Regions from separate parts of the Homo sapiens genome. Here all the other regions are linked to region 4. Evidence: promoter capture Hi-C in 16 types of primary human blood cells and fetal thymus (Javierre and others, 2016). All regions are on one chromosome and are shown on one strand. The core of a region is centred on a gene start or on the middle of the fragment in contact, and the rest is flanking DNA. Distances in the headings are between cores, read along the strand shown. Region 1 has its middle 57 kb from the start of LINC02968. Region 2 has its middle 41 kb from the start of ASMT. Region 3 overlaps AKAP17A (A-kinase anchoring protein 17A). Region 4 holds the start of DHRSX (dehydrogenase/reductase X-linked). Region 5 has its middle 19 kb from the start of LINC02968. Region 6 overlaps ASMT (acetylserotonin O-methyltransferase).

Region 1 (3,374 bases), core at 313-2,812, 830 kb before region 4:
CTGTTGCCCAGGCTGGAGTGCAGTGGCACGATCTCGGCTCACAGCAACCTCCATCTCCCAGGTTCACGCAATTCTCGTGCTTCAGCCTCCCGAGTAGCTGGAATTACAGGTGCCCACCACCACATCTGGCTGATTTTTGTATTTTTAGTAGAGAAAGGGTTTCACCATGTTGGCCAGGCTGGTCTCAAACTCCTGACCTCGTGATCCGCCCGCCTCAGCCTCCCAAAGTGCTGGGATTACAGGCGTGAGCCACCACGCCCGGCCTTAGCCAATTTCTTAAAATCTCTCTCAAATATCAATACATGTATATATGAAACCAACATATACCTCCTACTTAGACAATTCCTTCAAATTTCTTTCCCTTTCTCTCAAGACCTATAGATGTCTGTATAAAACCAATATATACTTCCTACGTAGCCAATTCCTTAAAATGTCTCTCCTTCAAATATCTATATGTATGTATAAAACCAACATATACTTCCTTCATAGTTAATTTCTTAAAGTCGCTCTCTGTGTATATAGATTTATATAGACATAGATATAGAGATATTATATGTCTACATATAGCTATGCATGAATAAAGCCAATATGTACCTATTATGTATACAAATCCTTAAAATCTTTCCTTTCTCTCTGTATGTATATATATAGATATATCTATATATAGATCTGTATGGATAAAGCCAATAGGTACCTTCTATATTGACAATTCCTTAACATCTCTCTCTCTGTGTATACCTATATATAGATATATAGACATTATATATCTATATGTATGTAAAAACCAACATATACCTCCTACATAGACAATTCCTTAAAATCTCTTTGCCTCTCTCTCTGTCTCTTTTTTGAGACCGAGTCTTGCTCTGTCACCCAGGCTGGAGTGCAATGGTGTGTTCTTGGCTCACTGCAACCTTCACCTCCCGGGTTCAAGCGATGCTCCTGCCTCAGTCTCCCAAGTAGCTGGGGTTACAGGTGCCCACCACCACGCCTGGCTAATTTTTTGCATTTTTACTAGACACGGGGTTTCACCATGTTGGCCAGGCTGGACTCGAACTCCTGACCTTAGGTAATCTGCCCGTCTCGGCCTCCCAAAGTGCTGAGATTACAGGCGTGAGCCACCGTACTCGGCCTAGATAGAGATATATAGCTATTATATATCTATATATTGATATGTATGGACAAAGCCAATATGTACCTCCTATACTGATAATTCCTTAACATCTCTCTCTCTCTGTGTATTTTATATATAGATGTATAGATAGTCTCTGTCTGTGTATATTTATATATAGATATATATTGTATCTATATAGATATATATTGTATATATATATAGATATATAGTATATATAGATATATATTGTATATATAGACATATATTGTATATATATATATATATATATGCATGTAAAAAACCAACATATACCTCCTACATAGAAATTCCTTAAAATCTCTTTGCCTCTCTCTCTCTCTCCCCCACCCGCCTCTTTTTTTTTTTTTTGAGACGGAGTCTTGCTCTGTTGCCCAGGCTGGAGTGCAATGGTGTGATCTTGGCTCACTGCAACCTCCACCTCCCGGGTTCAAGCAATTCTCCCACCTCTGCCTCCTGAGTAGCTGGTACTACAGGTGCCCACTACCATGCCCAGCTAATTTTTTGTATTTTTAGTAGAGACGGGGTTTCACCGTGTTGGCCAGGCTGGTCTCAAACTCCTGACCTCAGGTGATCTGCCCGCCTCGGCCTCCCAAAGTGCTGGGATGACAGGCGTAAGCCACCGTGCCAGGCCTACATATAGATATGTAGCTATTATATATCTCTATATAGATATGTATGGATAAAGCCAATATGTACATCCTAATATTGAGAATTTCTTAACATCTCTGTCTTTGTGTATATTTATATATAGATAAATAGCTACATAGACATTATATATCTATATGTATGTAAAAAACCAACATATACCTCCTACACAGACAATTCCTTAAAATCTCTTTGTCTCTCTCTCTCTATATATATTATCTATCTATCTATCTACCTGTGTCTATATAAGTGTGATTAAAGCCAATATGTATTTCCTATATAGACAATTCCTTCTATATAGACAATTCCTTAACATTTCTCTTTGCATGTGTATGTGTGTGTGTGTATATATATATATATATATATATATATGTAATATCTATATGTATAAAACCAGTAGCCAATTTCTTAAAATCTCTCTGTAACCTATCTACATGTGTGTTTACATGTCTGTCCATAAGTATGTATAAAACATCTACCTCCAGGCTGGGCGCAGTGGCTCACACCTGTCATCCCAGCACTTTGGGAGGCCAAGGAGGGTGGATCACGAGGTCAGGAGTTCGAGACCAGCCTGGCCAACATGGTGAAACCCTGTCTCTATTAAAAATAAAAAGAAACATTAGTCGGGCATGGTGGTTGGCACCTGTAGTCCCAGCTACTCGGGAGGCTGAGGCGGGAGAATCATTTGAACGTGGGAGGCGGAGGCTGCAGTGAGCCGAGATCGCACCACTGCACTCCAGCCTGGGCCACAGAGTGAGACTCCATCTCAAAAAAAAAAAAAAAAAATCATATCTACCTCCTATTGATTTTCTCCATCTTATTGGTTCTGTTTCCCTGTCTGATACACCACCGAAGGAGAGAGAATAAGGGGTCCTCGTGGGTTTGCGGGGTGACTGAGAGAGTCACAGATGACCTGTGGGTGCCTGGATTCCGGGAGGGGACGGGAGGACTCAGGGAAGAAGGACAGGGTGGAATCATCGGAGTTTCCCTCCAGTGGGAGGCCAGGAGCTTCCAACTGCCTCTGTACCCCCGACCCAGCACACAAAAGGACGAGGAGAAGCATATCCTCGTCTCTAAGCATCAGCGCCAATCACGGCAGGTGCCGTGGTAGCAGTGAGCCTTGGCACTCAGCGTTTTTCTGCACTGTGGGTGAAAGTCCGGGAAGATATCAGAACCTGTGGGCCCTGAGTGTCAGTCTTGCCCCTGTGGGTGGAGGGTGCAAGATTCTAGAGCAGTGGTCCTCAGGCTGGGGCTGGGTTAACTCCAGGAGAATCACCCTCTAGAGAGAGAGATGTTCCAATGCAGAGTCCCAGGCCTGCCCAGGAGAATCCAGCTCAGGAGTCTGTGGGTGAGTTCCAAAGGGTGTGACCAGGGATTGCTCACTGATTCAGGCGACTCAATGATAAAGAAGAGTGAGCCTCTTTTTTTTTTTTTTTTTTTTGAGATGGAGTCTCACTCTGCCTCCCAGGCTGGAGTTCAATGGCACGATCTCGGCTTACTGCAATCTCTGCCTCCCGGGTTCAACTGATTCTCCTGCCTCAGCCTCCTGAGCAGCTGGGACTACAGGTGCCCACCA
Region 2 (3,751 bases), core at 425-2,924, 850 kb before region 4:
ACACGCCAAAACCAAGATGGCCACAACAGTGACCTCTGGTCGTCCTCACTGCTATACTCCCACCAACACCATGACAGTTTTCAAATGCCATGGCAACGTCAGGAAGTTACCTTATATGGTCTAAAAAGGGGAGGCATGAATAATCCGCCCCTTGTTTAGCATATCTTCAAGAAATAACCATAAAGGCCAGGTGCGGTGACTCACGCCTGTCATCCCAGCACTTTGGGAGGCCGAGGCGGGCGCATCACGAGGTCAGGAGTTTGACACCAGCCTGACCAACATGGCAAAACCCCATCTGTACTAAAAATACAAAAATCAGCCCAGCGTGGTGGTGCATGCCTGTAGTCCCAGCTACTCGGGAGGCTGAGGCAGAAGAATCGCTTGAACCTGGGAGGCAGAGGTTGCGATGAGCCGAGATCATGCCACTGCACTCCAGCCTGGGTGACAGAGCAAGACTCCGTCTCAAAATCAAAAAAAAAAAAAAAAAAAAAAAGAAAGAAAGAAAGAAAAGAAAGAACGAACCATAAAAATGGGTAACCAGCAACCTTGGGGACTGCTCTGTCTACGGAGTAGCCATTCTTTTATTCCTTTACTTTCCCAATAAACTCGCTTTCCCTTTGGTCTATGGACTTGCCCTCAATTCTTTCTTGCATGAGATCCTAGAACCCTCTCTTGGGATCTGGATGAGGACCCCTTTCTGGTAACAGAGGGGTGTGGCGAGGCCTGGCCAACCTCCACTTCCCAACATGGCATGAACTTTAAATTGAAATTGAAATAATTTCATGTTAAATTTTAGAGTGTCCTGGCCAAGGAGGGAGTCCATTCAGATTTTTATTTTTGCTTTATTTATTTATTTTTTATTTTTTTGAGAAGGAGTCTCGCTCTGTTGCCCAGGCTGGAGTGCAGTGGCCCCAACTCGGCTCACTGCAACCTCCGCCTGCCGGGTTCAAGCGATTCCCCTGCCTCAGCCTCCCAAGCAGCTGGGACTACAGGCGCCCGCCACCATGCCTGGCTAATTTTTTAATTTTTAGTAGAGATGGGGCTTCACCATGTTGGTCAGGCTGGTCTTGAACTCCTGACCTCGTGATCCGTCTGCCTCAGCCTCCTAAAGTGCTGGGATCACAGGCATGAGCCACCACGCCCGGCCTATTTTTGGTTTATGAGAGGAGCTGCTGATACCTGGAGACTTGATACCCACAAGCTCCCCTTAGCCACAGTTCCAAAACAGGACATGGCTCAAGACCGCGTCTGGGGAGGAGGGGGAGACAGGATAATTCAGGCCTGCTGGGTGCTGCCTGCTGGGGGTACCCAGGGTCTGTAGATGTGTAAAGCCAGAGAGCTGGGACCAGAGTCTGCTGTTTCATTTTGCCCAAGACTTTCTGTGGGCCTCCTGGAATAAGGCAGACCAGCTGATGGTTGTTTTTTTTTTTTTTGACAGAGTCTTTCTCTGTCACCCAGGCTGGAGTGCAATGGCGCGATCTCGCCTCACTGCAACCTCCGTCTCCCAGGTTCAAGTGATTCCCCTGCCTCAGCCTCCCGAGTAGCTGGGACTACAGGTGCGCACCACCATGCCTGGCTAAATTTTGTATTTTTAGTAGAGATGGGGTTTCAGCATGTTGGTTAGGCTGGTCTTGTACTCCTGACCTCAAGTGATCCACCAGCCTCGGCCTCCCAAAGTCCTGGGATGACAGGCGTGAGCCACCACGCCAGGCCCGGGTAATATCTCTTATAGCTAGAGTGATTTTAGAGTGACCTTCGCATATCGTGACCCGTGAGTGAGTTTCCTGGGCGTGATGGTTAATACTGAATGGCAGCTTGATTGGATTGAAAGATCCAATCAAAGCGTTGTTCCTGGGTGTGTCTGTGAGGGTGTTGCCAAAGGAGAATAACACTAGAGTCAGTGGACTCGGAGAGGCAGAACCCCCCTCAATCTGGGTGGGCACCGTCTCATCAGCTGCCAGTCTGGCCAGAATAAAAGCAGGCAGAGGAGCGTGAAAAGGCTAGACTGGCTTAGCCTCCCAGCCTCCATCTTCCTCCTTTGCTGGATGCTTCCTGCCCTGGACCACTGGACTCCAAGTTCTTAATCCTTGGGACTCAGACTGGCTTCCTGCCTCCTCAGCTTGTAGATGACCTATGGTGGGACCTCACCTTGTGACTCTGTGAGTTAATTCTCCTTAATAAACTCCCCTTCATATATATATAATTCATGTGGACTCTTTCTAGACCATATAGATTGTATTAGTCAGGGTTCCTTAGAGGAATAGAACAAATAGAAGATACACACACACGCACACACACATATATATGTACGTATATGTGTGTATATATACACGTGTATATATACACACATATATACACGTGTATACACACACATGTGTATATATACATGTATACACATATATGTGTATATGCACATGTGTATACACACATATGTGCATGTACACATATGTGCATATACGCATATATACACGTGTGTATACGCATATATACGTGTGTACACGCATATATACACGTGTGTACACACATATATACACGTGTGTACACGCATATATACACGTGTGTATACGCATATATACACACATACACACATATATACACACATATACACACACACATATATATACACACACAATACATATATATGTGTGTGTGTGTGTGCGTGTGTGTGTATATATCTTCTATTAGTTCTATTCCTCTAAGGAACCCTGACTAATACAATGTATATGGTCTAAAAAGAGTCCATATGAATAATCCACTCCTAGTTTAGCATATCATCAAGAAATAACCATAAAAATGGGGGCCAGGTGTGGTGGCTCACGCCTGTCATCCCAGCACTTTGGGAGGCCGAGGTGGGTGGATCGCCTGAGGTCGGGAGTTTGAGACCAGCCTGGCCAACATGGTGAAACCCCATCTCTACTAAAAATACAAAAAAAATTAGTCGGGCATGGTGGCAGTTACCTGTAATCCCAGCTACTCGGGAGGCTGAGGCAGGAGAATCGCTTGAACCCGGGTGGCGGAGGTTGCAGTGAGCCGAGATCACGCCACTGCACTCCAGCGTGGGTGACAGAGTGAGACTCCATCTCAAAAAAAAGAGAAAAGGTTGTATTCTTTTGAGTCCTTGATAGCCTCTGACTGAATACATCATGTATTAGTTTGGTGTAGAAGTAACGGAGTGAAAACAAAAACAACAAAACAACCACCACCACCACCACAACAAAAAACACCCAGGCACAAAAGTGCAAAATGGCACAATATCATTTGCATGAAGTGTCTAGAATAAGACTGCTTGCAGAGTCAGAGAGCAGATGGGTGATTGCTTAAGGCTGAGAGCAGGGAGACTGGGGAGTGACGGTTTAATGGGTATGGGGTGTTTTTTTTTGGGTTACGAAGGTGTTCTGGAACTAGCTAGGGCCGGTGGTTGTGTAAAATGCTCAGTGCACTAAATCGTCTCTTCATTGTGCAATTTTTAAAATGGCAAACTGTGTGTGATGGGTATTTTCCCACAGTAAGAAACAGCAGCAGCACAAAGGGAGGTGATAACTCACGTCATATCACACCCTGCAGGCCCCATCACCCTTCCTCCTTCCTCTGTTCACCTCCTCCTCCTTTTCCGGGCTCTGCAGACGAGCCCGGGCAGCCCTCCCCGCTGGCCGTCTGGACCCAGGCCTGCCTGTCTTGGGTGCATTTTAGGACATTAAGTCTGGCTGGAACCTGAGAGCATCAGCCATGCGGTAAGTCCCCACATCCCTCC
Region 3 (3,480 bases), core at 308-2,807, 910 kb before region 4:
GCCCCTCCCTGGTGCCCCACTGACCTTTTCTGGTCGCTTCTCCACCCTCCCTCCCTTCTTTCGCACCTCCCACCTCGGGCTTGGGCGAGGAGGCCGTCTCCTGGGCCTGGCAGGAAGCCTCCAGGTTGATGGGGTGGGCGGCCGGGCCGGAGGCGGTCACCTGAGATGGTTGGGTTTCTGCGAGTGAAGCTTCCTCTACTTGGACTTGGCCGTCAGGAAGTGGCTGCCCGTCAGCTCAGCAGGGAAGAGGTGGGTTAATGAAGGTGGGCGGAGAAAGAAGGCGCAGACGGGGGACTCCGGCCCCTAACTTGTGGAAAGTTCGTTGTACTTTTTGGCTTTGAGTGGGTTAAAGCTGGGATACGTTTGGCCTTCGTGGAGATTACTAGGGTTCATGGTTCTGGATTGTTGTTGCAGCCCGAGACTTCCTGTTTTATCAGGGCAAGTACAGGGCCGCCGCCCCCTCCACAAAACCTTTCCAGATGCCTGCAGCTGTGCTCTCCCTGGCCCCTTCCCTTCCCCAGTGTCTCTCTGCCCCTTCCCGTGGAGCTAGGCGTTTGTAGCGTCCCCGTTCCTACTTGACCTGTGTGAGGGGCCTGGTCGTGCTCAGCTTCCTATTCTGCAGGCCTTGGGAGCTGCTGGCTGCTGGATGTAGGGTGTCGGGCAGTGCTGACCGAGGCTTTGACACTAACCTGTTCTTTATCAGCTCGGCTCTTTCCCCTTTGGTGTACTCTTAATGATTTCAAAAAGTAAAGAACTCCGTTGAGATGGCTGTTAACAAAGTGGAAACCGGTCTCTGACACGGCAGAGAGACACTGCTGTTTCTCTTCTCCGGGTCCAGAAAGTGCCTGCTGGCTTGGCCCCTCCTCATTGGCGGGGGAGGTGGGGGGTGCTGGTGCTGACTGTCTGCGTCTTATGTTTCAGGCCCAAGGTCCCGGAGGCTATGGCAGCGGCTACCATCGTGCACGACACGTCTGAGGCCGTGGAGCTCTGCCCTGCTTACGGCTTGTACCTGAAGCCCATCACCAAGATGACCATCAGCGTGGCACTCCCGCAGCTGAAGCAGCCGGGGAAGTCCATCTCCAACTGGGAGGTGATGGAGAGGCTGAAGGGCATGGTGCAGAACCACCAGTTCTCCACGCTGCGTATTTCCAAGAGCACCATGGACTTCATCCGCTTCGAGGGGGAGGTGGAGAACAAGAGCCTGGTCAAGTCTTTTCTGGCCTGCCTGGACGGCAAGACCATCAAGCTCAGCGGCTTCTCCGACATCCTGAAGGTGCGCGCGGCCGAGTTCAAGATCGACTTCCCCACCCGCCACGACTGGGACTCCTTCTTCCGCGACGCCAAGGACATGAACGAGACCCTGCCGGGGGAGCGGCCGGACACCATCCACCTGGAGGGGCTGCCCTGCAAGTGGTTCGCCCTGAAGGAGTCGGGCTCCGAGAAGCCCAGCGAGGACGTCCTGGTCAAGGTGTTTGAGAAGTTCGGGGAGATCCGGAATGTGGACATCCCCATGCTGGACCCCTACCGGGAGGAGATGACGGGCCGCAACTTCCACACCTTCAGTTTCGGGGGGCACTTGAACTTCGAGGCCTATGTGCAGTACCGCGAGTACATGGGCTTCATCCAGGCCATGAGCGCCCTGCGCGGGATGAAACTCATGTACAAGGGCGAGGACGGCAAGGCCGTGGCCTGCAACATCAAGGTGAGTCCTGGGCACCGAGAGAGCCACGCGCTTCCTCCCTCTGGCGACTTCCTTCCAGCAGGGTCAGCAGAACGCTCCCAGCCACACCCCTGAGGCTGTGGGGACCTCCCCTAAGTAAAATGGCAGCAACAGTCCTGTGCCTGTCCAATTTCAGAGGCACAGGCGTGAGGTGGAGTAGGGGTCCCGTGCTGTGGTTTTGGAAATTTGGTATCTTAAGGAAGATGTGGGGGAGACACAGGTCATATAGTAGGTGAGGGATGGAGCCTCAGGAACTCTGACAGGGATTTGAACCGTGTCAGAACCAAGAGAACCCGGCCTTCCCAGAATGCACCTTGAAACCAGGGCTGAACGTTCCCTTTAGCCTCATGTGCTTTTTTATTTTTTTTATTTTTTTTATTTTTATTTTTTTTTCGAGGCAGAGTCTCGATCTGTTTCCTGGACTGGAGTGCAGTGGCGCAATCTTTGCTCAGTGCATCCTCCGCCTCCTGGGTTCGAGCGATTCTTCTGCCTCAGCCTCCCGAGTAGCTGGGACTACAGGCGCGTGCCATCACACCTGGCTAATTTTTGTATTTTTAGTAGAAACAGGGTTTTGCCGTATTGGCCAGGCTGGTCTCGAACTCCTGACCTCATGAACTGCCTGCCTCGCCCTCCCAAAGTGCTGGGATTACAGGCGTGAGCCACTGCGCTCAGCCTAGCCTCGTGTTTTGACCGTGTTGGCTTCACAGTGACAAATGAGCCAGCCTCCTGGAGGGGGTTTTGTGGCCTTAAGATGTGCCCTGTGGGTGTGGGCAGGCGGCCTGCTCAGTGACTGTGGCCACAGGGAATGGTGGAGCCGGGTAGCGGAAGGGGAGCTGTGTCTCGCAGCGGTGGCGTGTCACTTGTGTTCAGTAAGTGGCGAGGGCTAGTTGGTGTTCCTCGCTGAGTCGTAACTCCGTGGGATGAGCTAAGTCTTGAGCCACTGATGGTGACTTGAAGGGATTGGTTTGGCTTCTGGGCTCCACTGTCTGGGTCTGCACCGGACATGAGTGGTGAGCGGTGAGCGGTGAGCGGGCGCTCAGGCTCTGAGGCCACTCGGCCCTACGGCCCAGGAGAGGGCGCCTGGCCGTGTGTCTGGGGGGTTTTGGGGGAAGGCCATCTGACACTGTTTTTGCTTTTAAAGGTTTCTTTTGATTCGACCAAACACCTGAGTGATGCCTCAATTAAGAAGCGGCAGCTGGAGAGGCAGAAGCTTCAGGAACTGGAGCAGCAAAGAGAAGAACAAAAGCGCAGAGAGAAGGAAGCGGAGGAGAGGCAGCGAGCGGAGGAAAGGTACCTTCTGCGGGAGCGGGCCCTCGGCGCTGGTGTCCGGCACCTGGGAGTGTGCGCAGACCCGTGTGCGTGTGTCTGCATGTATTCCTGTGCGTGTGTGTGTGCATGCATGCTTGTGAGCTTGTGTGTGTACCTGTGTGCATGGACGCACGTGTGCCTGTGAACCGGTGTGTGTACTTTGTATGTCCCTATGTGCGCCCGAGTGTGTGCCTGAGCATCTGTGTGCACGTGTGCCTGTGTGTGCGTGCATGTGTGTGAGCTCGTGTGTGTACCTGTGTGTGTATGTGCACGTGTGCCCACATGTGTGTGCTTCTGTATCGGCACATAGCACACATGTGCCTGTGTGCATGCGTGTGTGCCTGTGAACCCGTGTGTGTACTTGTGTGTGCACGTATGGGTGTGTGTGCAGGCCTGTGGGTGCTCAGCTGTGCACGTGAGGACCTGCGTGAGTGGCTGTTTGAGACGCAGCA
Region 4 (3,514 bases), core at 901-3,400:
AATTGTTCAGCAGCTGTAAACCGTTCACCTTGCAACTGATTACTTACTTCAAACAAACATGCTCTCCTGCCCTCCGAAAGCCTGACTACAGTTCCCTTTACTCTCCTTCTTCTATGCATTTGTAATTATGCTAAGTGGGTTTAAAAAAAAATACTGAAGGCCAGTTTGGCAGAAAAAGAAAAGCTTAGCTCACAGAAAACTCAAAGCTCTTTTTCTCTGGCTAGAGGCGGGAGAGAGAGGCTCATTTTAAAACATCCACTCCAGGCACGCTTCTCAAAGGGTGGCGCTGGGACCCCTGGGATTCCTTCAGTGGGTGCAGAGTGGAAGTCAAAAGTCATTTCACAATAAGGCACCCAAGCGCTTCGCCTGGCTGACTCCCAGTCTCCCAGAGGCGTGCAGTAGTGTCTTCCAGAGGCCTCCTGACATGCCATGAAACTGTCTACAGAGGCAGAAATAACAGCTCTCTTCTTAGGCTGGACATTTAAGACATTCAGGGCAACGTACACCCCCACCCCCACCACACTGACCCTCTGAACGCTCTGTTTTGGAAAACTGTTATTTTTGAAACAAAGTATCATTTAACCTAACATGGAATTAACATTCCCTTTATTCCAGTTCACAAATAATTGTTTACAGGTTTCTAGGTTTAAATTGAGAATATGGGCTGGGCACAGTGGCGCTCTGTCTGTAATCCCAGCAGTTTGGGAGGCCCAGACTGGAGGATTGCTGCAGGCCAGGGGTTCAAGACCAGCCTGGGCAACATGGTGAGATGCCATCTCTACAAAAAATTTAAAACATTAGCCAGGCGTGGTGGCTCACGCCTGTAAACCCAGCACTTTGGGGGACCCAGGTAGGAGGATTGCTTCGGCCCATGAGTTTCAGACCAGCCTGGGCAACGTAGCAAGACCCTATTGCTACACAAAAAAATTAAAACATTAGACAGGTGTGGTGGCTCACACCTGTAATCCCAACAGTTTGGGAGGCAAAGGAAGGAAGATCGCTTGAGCCCAGGAGTTCGAGACCAGCCTGAGCAACATAGCAAGACCCCGTCTACAAAACTTTAAAACATTAGTCGGATGCAGTAGCTGGTGCCTGTAATGCCAGCACTTTGGGAGGCTGAGGCAGGAGGACTGCTTGAGCCCAGGAGTTCGAGAGTAGCCTCGGCAACAGAGCAAGACTTCATCTCTACTTCCTATTACAAAAAATAATAATAATAATAAATTCTGAACCTGCAAATCTAGGAACAGAAGTTATCTGCATACACAAAACACAGTGGCGGTCATCACTGATGAGTTCAGACAGTGAACGAGTCCTGCAAAGTTGGAGATCTGTGACTCAGAGATGTTTACAAAGGCCAAGGAAACAAAGTTGCCACTTAACGGGCCTGCCCTCCCCACCAGACCTCCGTGGCTCCCCAGTGCCCGAGAAGCCGCCTCTGGGCCCCCTCTGGAGACGTCCTCCGGAGAAGGGCCCATCCTCACTTACCCTGGGGTGGGTAGGGGTCGAGGTCCCTGGGACGCCCGCTCCTCCCCTCCGGGGCCTGGCGGGGGCGCGCGGTCACTGGCCGACCGCAGGCGGCAGGCAGAGCCGCCTGATGTCTTGGGCGCGGGGCGTGCGAGCCCCCGGGTCCCCGGCCATGGCCCGGAGGTGTCAGGGTGCGCGGGGGGGCGGCTGCACGGGGGCTGCTTGGTTGGAGCCCGACCCGGGACAGGCGGGGAGGCCACACGCGCGGGGAGGGAAGGGTCGGGCCGGGTCGGGCCGGGCCAGGCGCGCAGAAGAGCCGGCGGGGACGGAAAGCGCGGGGCGGGGAGGTCCCAGCGCGCACGCCGCCCCCCCCCCACCCCCGGCCACACCTCGACCCCCGCCCAGCCCCACTTCCGGGAGCGCCACCGCCTCGCCAAGGTCACGCGGAGCCCCCGCGCCCCCGCCCCCGAGCCAGCCCGCGCCCACCCGGGTCCCCGGAGCCCTGACCCCTGCCCCGCCCCGCTGACCTGGCTCCAGGAAGCCCCCGCGGCAGCGCCGCAGCAGCTGCGCCAGGATCACCGCGGCGCCTACCGCGTAGACCCGCAGGGCCGCCCGCGCCGCAGACAATGGCGACATGGCTGCCCCGGCCGCGCCGCCGCCGCTTCCGCGCCGCCCGCGGGACTCTGCGCCCGCCCGCCCGGACGGACGGCGGAAACGCGCGCGCCCCGGACCGCCCCCTGCCCGCCCCGAACCGCCCCGGCCTGCGGGGAACCCCCAACCCCAGACCCCGCCCGGGCCCTCTGGGATCCCGCACCGCCTGCAGGACTGGGGACCCCGAGCGGACAACCGACCCCAGCCAGGACACCCCCCCCAGGACCACAGACTCCAGCCAGGAACCCCCCCCTGCAAGGACCATAGACTTCAGCCAGGACCCCCCCCCCCAGGACCACAGACCCCAGCCAGGACGCCCCCAGGACCACTGACCCCAGTCAGGACCCCCCCTTCAGGACCACAGACCCCAGCAGGGACCCCCCACACACACCCCCAGCCAGGACCACAGACCCCAGCCAGGAATCCCCCCCAGGACCACAGACCCCAGCAGGGACCCTCCACACCTCCTCCAGGACCACAGACCCCAGCAGGGACCCTTCCCCCTCCCGGCAGGACTGCAGACCCCAGCAGGGATCCCCACCACCACAAGACCAACAGCCCCAGCCAGGACGCCCCCAGGACTACAGACCCCAGCCAGCACCCAAGTCAGATCCATAGACTCCTCCCAAGAACACCCCCCAGGACCCCAGACCCCTGCTGGGACCCCCAAGACCACAGGCCCCCCCACTGGGGCACGCCCAGACACCCCACCAAGAACCCCACCAGGACTACAGACCTCCACCAGGACTCCCCAGTACCACAGATCCTCCCAGGGCCCCCCAGGACCACAGACCTCCACTGGGACCCCCACCACCAGGACCCCTCTCCAGGATCACAGACCCCTACTGGGGCCCCCTTCTAGGACCTCCACCTCCATCACAACCACCCCCCGGACCACAGGCCCCAGCCAGCACCCCACAAGACCACAGACCCCTGCCAGGACGCCCCCCAGGACTACAGACCCCAGCTGGACTGCCTCTCCAAGACCCCACACTCCAGCCAAGACCATGGAACCCCATTCAAGCCCCAGCCAGGACCCCCACCATGGGATCACAGATCCCCTACCCAGACCCTGCAGGGGACCAGGACCACCACGGGAACCACCCTCCCCATCTTAGCCAGAATCATGTAACCCCACGCAGACCTCAGCAGGGACCACAAGGACTTGGACCCCATAGGGAACCCCAGACAACCACCCAGAGCCATGCCAGGATTATGGACCAGGACTCCCACAGAGGACTCTGAACAGCTGTAAGGACCATGGACCCCACACCCTAATTCGTACTGACACCACAGAACCTGCCCCAAGCACGGACCCCACACCCCAGTTCCTGCTGACACCACAGAACCTGCCCCAAGCACGGACCCCACACCCCAGTTCCTACTGAGACCACAGACC
Region 5 (3,610 bases), core at 431-2,930, 790 kb before region 4:
TGATGGTGAAGGTGGTATGTGCTGGAAATAATCAATGGGTTGGGGGGTATAGACTTGAAGACTATATGCAAATGTCCTGTTTCTTTTTCTTTTCTTTTCTTTCTTTTTTTTTTTTTTTTTTTTGAAAACGAGTTTTGCTCTGTCGCCCAGGCTGGAGTGCAATGGGATGATCTCAGCTCACTGCAAACCTCCGTCTCCCTGGTTCAAGCGATTTTCCTACCTCAGCCTCCCAAGTAGCTGGGATTACAGGCCTGTGCCACCACACCTGGCTAATTTTTGTATTTTTCGTAGAGACGGTTTCACAATGTTGGCCAGGCTGGTCTCAAACTCCTGACCTCAGGTGATCCACACACCTCGGCCTCCCAAAGTGCTGGGATTATAGGCGTGAGCCACTGTGCCTGGCCTTCCCCTCCCTCCCTCCCTTCCTTTCTCTCTCTCTCTCTCTCTCCTTCTCTTTCTCTCTCTCTTTCTCTCTTTCTGTCTCTCTTTTTCTTTCTTTCTCTTTCTTCCCCTCACACCCGTCTCTTCTTATTTTTTTTTTGAGATAGGGCTCTCTCTGTCACCACCCAGGCTGTAGTGCTGTGGCCCAATCTCGGCTCGCTGCAGCCTTGACCTCCGAGGCTCAAGCAATCCTCCCACCTCTCAGCCTCTCAGGTCTCTGGGACCACAGGTGCATGCCACCATGCCCAGCTAATTTTTTTTTTTTTTTTTTTTTTTTTTTTTTTTGTAGAGACAGGGTCTTGCTATACTGTCTAAGCTGGTCTTAAACTCCTGATCTCAAGCGATCCTCCAGTCTCAGCCTCCCAAAGTGATGGGATTATGGTGTGAACCACCGTGCCCAGCCCTATTTCTTCTTAAACCTCTTCATCAGTAATTTTAACATTCACAGTGAATAAGAGATTTTTGATATTTATTCAGAGTGTAGAAGGGGCAGGAAGATGAATCAACAGATGTGGTTGGATTATAAATACATACATAACACATCAGTCCTTTTTTCTTTCTTCTTTCTCTGTTTCTTTCTCTTTCTTTTTCTCTTTTTCTTTCTCTTTTTCTCTCTCTCTTTTTCTCTTGCTCTCTCTTTTTCTGTCTTGCTCTCTCTTTTTCTCTCTCTTTCTTTCATCTCTCTCTCTTTTCTTTTTTTTTTTCAGACAGAGTCTCGCTCTGTCACCCAGGCTGGAGTGCAGTGGCGTGGTCTCAGCTCACTGCAACCTCCACCTCCTCGGTTCAAGGGATTCTCTTGCCTCAGCCTCCCAAGTAGCTGGGAATACAGGTGCCCACCACTACGCCTGGCTAATTTTTGTATTTTTAGTAGAGATGAGGTTTCACCATGTTGGCCAGGCTGGTCTCGAACTCCTGACCTCAAGTGATCCACCCGCCTTGGCCTCCGAAAGTGCTGGGATTACAAGTGTCAGCCACTGTGCCTGGCCATATTTCTGTTCAAGGAGTATTGAGTTTCTTATTTCCTTGCCAGAATGTGGAAATGAGATAAAGACCCCCACAAAAGAGAACAAGCAAAGGCTACTTATTCAGTGCTTGCTGTAGCAGGGGTCCGCCACCATCACAGAAACTCAAAGACAGACAGAGGAGGGGAAAAGCTTTATCGTGGAAAAAGGGAGGCTCAGGTGTGCCCTGAAGAAAGGCTTTGTCCTCCAGGGAAGCTGGAGGCAGCTCACTGGAAGCATGGTGGCGTCCTGGGTGAGTGGTTAGGGGGCATATTTGACTTCCTCTTGTTGGACTTAAATTGGAAATGGGAAGAAGAATTAGGAAAGCTTTCAGGTATTAATGAAGCCTTGGCCACTGGGGGCCAATTGCTGCAGAGGGAATGGATCAGAGTTCTCTCTTTTTTCACATTACAGCCTGTGTGTGACGTGCTATTACATACGGCCCACCACTTGTTTTTTTGTAAATAAAGTTTTATTGAAATGCAGTCAACCCCATCATTTGCATAATGTTTCTGGCTGCTAGTTTTGTTGTTGTTGTTATTTTTTGTTTGTTTGTTTTTTGAGACAAGGTCTCCCTCTGTTGCCCAGGCTGGAGTGCAGTGGTACCATCATAGCTCACTGCAGCCTCTACCTCCCAGGCTCAAGGGATCCTCCTGCTTCAGCCTCCTGAGTAGCTGAGACTACAGGCACATGTCTACAAGGTCTGCTAATTATTTTAGTTTTTGATGATTACTAGATTTTTGATTACTAGTTTTTGATTACTAGTTTTTGATTACTAGAGATGGGGTCTCGCTTTGTTGCTGAGGCTGGTAGAGTTCTCTTTTTATATATGGTCCTAGTGACGGAATGCTGGTGATGAATATGTCAAGATTCGCGCCTCCCATCTCTCAAACTAGGAGAAGCAAATGCTGATGAGACACTAAGACAATTCCAAGGCACAGGGCAATGTTTTCTCGGCTGGCAGTTCTGCTGCGTTTTGTCATGGCACATGTCCTACATATTGGAATTACTCCATCTGCAGAGGAGGAGGAGCCTCAATCTTCAGCTTCAGTGGTGCCTTTGGCAGCAAGGACCTGGAGATTGTTCACTTGTGAAGGATGCAGGGGACAGATTCAGGGCCAGGTGAGCACGTCCATTTAGGGTTTGGGAGCTGGACGGCAGCTCTGATTTTTCAGCCTTCCCATCATTGTTGCAGAAACAGCCATCTCCTTGGGGGATTATCGCATTTCGGTCAGGGAGGCGTGTTTCCCCAACCTCCCCACACCCTGCATACTTCATCCTGTATCTGGTCTTCAGAGCTGTGTCTTCCTCATCAGCCCTCGCTGATGGGGGGTGGCTGGGAGTATCCAGCCTTTTCCACCTGTATTAGGGCATCGGGGGAAAGACAAGAGACGGGAACTGGGTGTGCCTGTTTCTCAACCACCAAAAAGGTCCATCAAAAGTTTATATACTTGGCCGGGTGCAGTGGCTCACGCCTGTAATCCCAGCACTTTGGGAGGCCGAGGCGGGCAGATTACCAGGTCAGGTGATCAAGACCATCCGGGCCAACATGGTGAAACCCTGTCTCTACTAAAAATACAAAAATTAGCCGGGCGTGGTTGCATGTGCCTGTAGTCCCAGCTACTCGGGAGGCTGAGGCAGGAGAATCACTTGAACCCAGGAGGCAGAGGTTGCAGTGAGCCGAGATTTGTGCCACTGCACTCCAGCCTGGGCGACAGAGCGAGATTCCGTCTCAAAAAAAGAAAAAAGGAAAGTAAAAAGTTTGTATATTTAATCCCAGCACTTTGGGAGGCCAAGGCAAGCAGGTCACCTGAGGTTGGGAGTTTGAGACCAGCCTGACCAACATGGAGAAACCCTGTCTCTACTGAAAATACAAAATTAGCTGGGCATAGTGGCCCATGCCTGTAACCCCAGCTACTTGAGAGGCTGAGGCAGGAGAATCGCTTCAACCTGGGAGGCAGAGGTTTGGTGAGCCAAGATCGTGCCATTGCACTCCAGCCTGGGCCACAGAGGGAGACTCCATCTCAAAACAACAACAAAAAGCTTATATAGTTTATCCAGTCTATTACTGATGGGCATTTGGGTTGGTTCCAAGTCTTTGCTATTGTAAATAGTGCTGCAATAAACATACGTGTACATATGTCTATAAAGAAAATGTGGCACATAGA
Region 6 (3,440 bases), core at 906-3,405, 880 kb before region 4:
AGCAACACCTCATTCCTTTTTTTTATTTTTTTGAGCTGGAGTCTCACTCTGTAACCCAGGCTGGAGTGCAGTGGCACGGTCTTGGCTCACTGCAACCTCCGCCTCCAGGGTTCAGGCTATTCTCCTGCTTCAGCCTCCCGAGTATCTGGGATTACAGGCACCCACCACCACGCCCGGCTAATTTTTGTATTTTTAGTAGAGATGGGGTTTCACCATGTTGGCCAGGCTGGTCTCGAACTCCTGACCTCAAGTGATTCACCTGCCTCGGCCTCCCAAGGCCTCATTTCTTCTTCTCACAGAATAACATCGTGCTCAGTGAAGGAAGGCTGACGTGAAAGGCCCCATATGGTATGACTTCATTTATATGAAATGTGCAGAGCAGGCAAATCCTTCGAGGTGGAAAGTGGACTGGTGGTTTGCAGAGGCTGGGCAGGACTGCGGAGGGAGTGTTTAACGGAGACAGTGTCCCTTTTTGGGGTGATGCAAATGTTCTGGAACCCGGCGGAAGTGCTGGCTATACAACATCACGAATGTACTAAGTGCCCCTGAATTATGCTTGAAAAGGGTTAATGATGGCCGGGCTCAGCGGTGACACCTGTCATCCCAACGGTTTGGGGGTCCGAAACGAGGGAATCGCTTTAGCCCAGGAATTCGAGACCAGTCTGGGCAACATAGTGAGACCCCCCATTTCTACAAATTCTTTTTTCTTTTTGAGACAGAGTCTCGCTCTGTCGCCCAGGCTGGAGTGCAATGGCACGATCTCGGCTCACTGCAAGCTCCACCTCCCAGGTTCACGCCATTCTCCTGCCTCAGCCTCCCGAGTAGCTGGGATTACAGGCACCCGCCACCACGCCCGGCTAATTTTTTGTATTTTTAGTAGAGACGGGGTTTCACCGTGTTAGCCAGGATGGTCTCGATCTCCTGACCTCATGATCCGCCCGCCTCGGCCTCCCAAAGTGCTGGGATTACAGGCGTGAGCCACTGTGCCTGGCCAAAAATATTTTAAAAATTAGCCAGGTGGGGTGGTGCACACCTGTAGTCCCAGCTACTCAGGAGGCTGAGGCGGGAGGATCGCTTAAGCCTAGGAGATGAAGGCTGCAGTGAGCTATGATTGCACCACTGCACTCCAGCCTGGATGACAGAGCAATACTGAGTCTCTTTAAAAAATAAACGGCAGGGCGCGGTGGCTCATGCCTGTCATCCCAGCACTTTTTGGGGTCCAAGGTGGGCGGATCACTTGAGGTCAGGAGTTCAAGACCAGCCTGGCCAACATGGTGAAACCCCGTCTCTACTAGAAGTATAAAAATTAGCCAGGCATGATGGTGGGCACCTGTCATCCCATTTACTCGGGAGGCTGAGGCAGGAGAATTGCTTGAACCCGGAGGAGGTAGAGGTTGCAGTGAGCCGAGATTATGCCACTGCACTCCAGCCTGGGTGTCGCAGTGAGACTCTGTCTCAGAACAAAAACCAAAAACCAGCATCATCGTGAAAGGGGGTCGTGTGCTGACGATATTTTGAGATGTCTGCAGCAGCTCTCGTGTGACTTGAAAATATCTGTGGTTTCTCTCCGTCAGCAAGCCACCGGTTTTTTTTGTTTGTTTTTTTCCTTTTTTTTTTTCAGACAGAGTTTCCCTCTTGTCGCCCAGGCTGGAGCGCAGTGGCGCTATCTCGGCTCACTGCAACCTCTGCCTCCCGGGTTCAAGCGATTCTCCTGCCTCAGCCTCCCGAGTAGCTGGGAGTACAGGCGCGTTCCAACACGCCCAGATAATTTTGTATTTTTAGTAGAGATGGGGTTTCTCTATGTTGGTCAGGCTGGTCTCGAACTCCCAACCTCAGGTGATCCTCCTGGCCCCCACACTTTCTTCTATCATGGCTGTGGTTTGCCAGTACGCTCATGGTTGAAGGGAACACCACATCTTAGGAAGAGGTAGTGAAAATTAGAGTGAAGTCTCTTCTCCTTCCTGGTTTGTAGAGCCCGTGAATTTTACCTCTAGGCCCCCAAGGGTTAAAAATACCTATTCCCCAGCCACTGATACGCAGAGCGGCCTCCGCCTACGGGGTTCAAGCGATTCTCCTGCCTCAGCCTCCTGAGTACCTGGGATTACAGGTGCCTGCCACCAAGCCTGGCTAACTTTTATTTTTATTTTTATTTTTATTTATTTTTCTGATATGGAGTTTCACTGTTGTTGCCCAGGCTGGAGTGCAGTGGCATGATCTCAGCTCACTGCAACCTCTCCCTCCCAGGTTCAAGCAATTCCCCTGCCTTAGCCTCCTGAGTAGCTGGGATTTCAGGCGTCCACCACCACGCCCGGCTAATTTTTGTATTTTTGGCAGAGACGGGGTTTCATCATGTTGGCCAGGCTGGTGTCGAACTCCTGACCTCGGGCGATCTGCCTGCCTCGGCCTTCCAAAGTGCTAGGATTACAGGTGTGAGCTACTGCCTCTGGCTAATTTTTTGTAGTTTTGGTAGAGATGAGGTTTCATCATGTTGGCCAGGCTGGTCTTGAACTCCTGACCTTGGGCAATCTGCCTGCCTCAGCCTCCCAAAGTGCTAGGATGACGGGCGTGAGCCACTGACATCCAGCTAATTTTTTGTATTTTTGGTAGAGACGGGGTTTCATCATGTTGTCCAGGCTGGTCTCGAACTCCTGACCTCGGGTGATCTGCCTGCCTCAGCCTCCCAAAGTGCTAGGATTATAGGCATGAGCCAACATGTCTGGCTAATTTTTCTATTTTTTAGTAAAGGTGGGATTTCTGTTACTGTCCCAGACAACAGTAACTTGCTACCTTTGCCTCCTTTGACCGCAGGCCTCCTGCTGGGGCTATTGACTGCTCATTCAAAGACTGTCGCTGGTTCACAGCGGTGTTCAGGGAGGTGGTCTGGTGGGTTCTAAATCTTGGAAGAGCAGTCACTTTAAGGCACATGATACCATGTCATGGGAGTTGTCAGAAGTTTCACAGAACCAGAGTTAATGCAGAGTTAATACCACCTTAAGAGGATCAAACTTAGTACACCCTTAACAGAAACAATTAGCTAATGCAGCTTTCATAGACCAAGAGTGAATATCGCCTTAAGAAGATAACATTTAGTATACCCTTGGCCAGGCACAGTGGCTCACGCCTGTAATCCCAGCACTTTGGGAGGCCGAGGCGGGCGGATCACAAGGTCAGGAGTTCGAGACCAGCCTGGCCAATATGGTGAAATCCCATCTCTACTAAAAATACAAAAATTACCTGGGCGTGGTGGCGGGCACCTGTAGTACCAGCTACTTGGGAGGCTGAGGCACGAGAATGGCGTGAACCCGGGAGGTGGAGGTTGCAGTGAGCCGAGATCACGCCACTGCACTCCAGCCTTGGGGGCAGAGCGGGACCCTGTCTCAAAAAAAAAAAAAAAAAGTGGGGGCTGGGGAGGGAGAGCACTAGGACAAATACCTAATGTA

The links. Contacts are between HindIII fragments. The CHiCAGO score rates a contact against its expected background, and 5 or more counts as called.
Region 1: a fragment that was not itself captured here is called in contact with the fragment with the promoter of DHRSX in region 4 in 13 of 17 cell types (total CD8 T cells, neutrophils, naive B cells and 10 more); the score reaches 10.8 in total CD8 T cells.
Region 2: a fragment that was not itself captured here is called in contact with the fragment with the promoter of DHRSX in region 4 in 17 of 17 cell types (naive CD8 T cells, total CD8 T cells, megakaryocytes and 14 more); the score reaches 18.0 in naive CD8 T cells.
Region 3: a fragment that was not itself captured here is called in contact with the fragment with the promoter of DHRSX in region 4 in 16 of 17 cell types (naive B cells, fetal thymus, endothelial precursors and 13 more); the score reaches 11.4 in naive B cells.
Region 5: a contact is called between a fragment that was not itself captured here and the fragment with the promoter of DHRSX in region 4, in 8 of 17 cell types (naive B cells, naive CD4 T cells, total CD8 T cells and 5 more). The highest score is 8.4, in naive B cells.
Region 6: a fragment that was not itself captured here is called in contact with the fragment with the promoter of DHRSX in region 4 in 10 of 17 cell types (naive CD4 T cells, neutrophils, M2 macrophages and 7 more); the score reaches 7.0 in naive CD4 T cells.

What each region holds. Positions count from the first base shown.
Region 1 is chrX:1,674,228-1,677,601 of GRCh38, forward strand. No RefSeq gene overlaps it. Among named protein-coding and RNA genes, the nearest start is that of LINC02968, 57 kb to the right of the region's middle. The HindIII fragment of the contact is 10,000 bases long and covers 1-3,374 here.
Region 2 is chrX:1,654,141-1,657,891 of GRCh38, forward strand. No RefSeq gene overlaps it. Among named protein-coding and RNA genes, the nearest start is that of ASMT, 41 kb to the left of the region's middle. RefSeq lists enhancers at 3,158-3,659, 3,660-3,751. The HindIII fragment of the contact is 4,584 bases long and covers 1-3,751 here.
Region 3 is chrX:1,592,523-1,596,002 of GRCh38, forward strand. AKAP17A (A-kinase anchoring protein 17A) reads left to right here. Exons shown (of 5, transcript NM_005088.3): 2 at 922-1,702; 3 at 2,862-3,010. The coding sequence starts at 941. Among named protein-coding and RNA genes, the nearest start is that of AKAP17A, 2.7 kb to the left of the region's middle. The HindIII fragment of the contact is 2,741 bases long and covers 188-2,928 here.
Region 4 is chrX:2,498,826-2,502,339 of GRCh38, forward strand. DHRSX (dehydrogenase/reductase X-linked) reads right to left here and starts at 2,151. Exons shown (of 7, transcript NM_145177.3): 1 at 1,992-2,151. The coding sequence starts at 2,100. It overlaps ZBED1 (zinc finger BED-type containing 1), which reads right to left and starts at 2,151. Exons shown (of 2, transcript NM_001171136.2): 1 at 1,992-2,151. The HindIII fragment of the contact is 4,150 bases long and covers 182-3,514 here.
Region 5 is chrX:1,711,581-1,715,190 of GRCh38, forward strand. No RefSeq gene overlaps it. Among named protein-coding and RNA genes, the nearest start is that of LINC02968, 19 kb to the right of the region's middle. The HindIII fragment of the contact is 174 bases long and covers 1,594-1,767 here.
Region 6 is chrX:1,616,015-1,619,454 of GRCh38, forward strand. The region is part of intron 1 of ASMT (acetylserotonin O-methyltransferase); the gene reads left to right. Among named protein-coding and RNA genes, the nearest start is that of ASMT, 2.7 kb to the left of the region's middle. RefSeq lists an enhancer at 2,496-3,133. The HindIII fragment of the contact is 4,661 bases long and covers 1-3,440 here.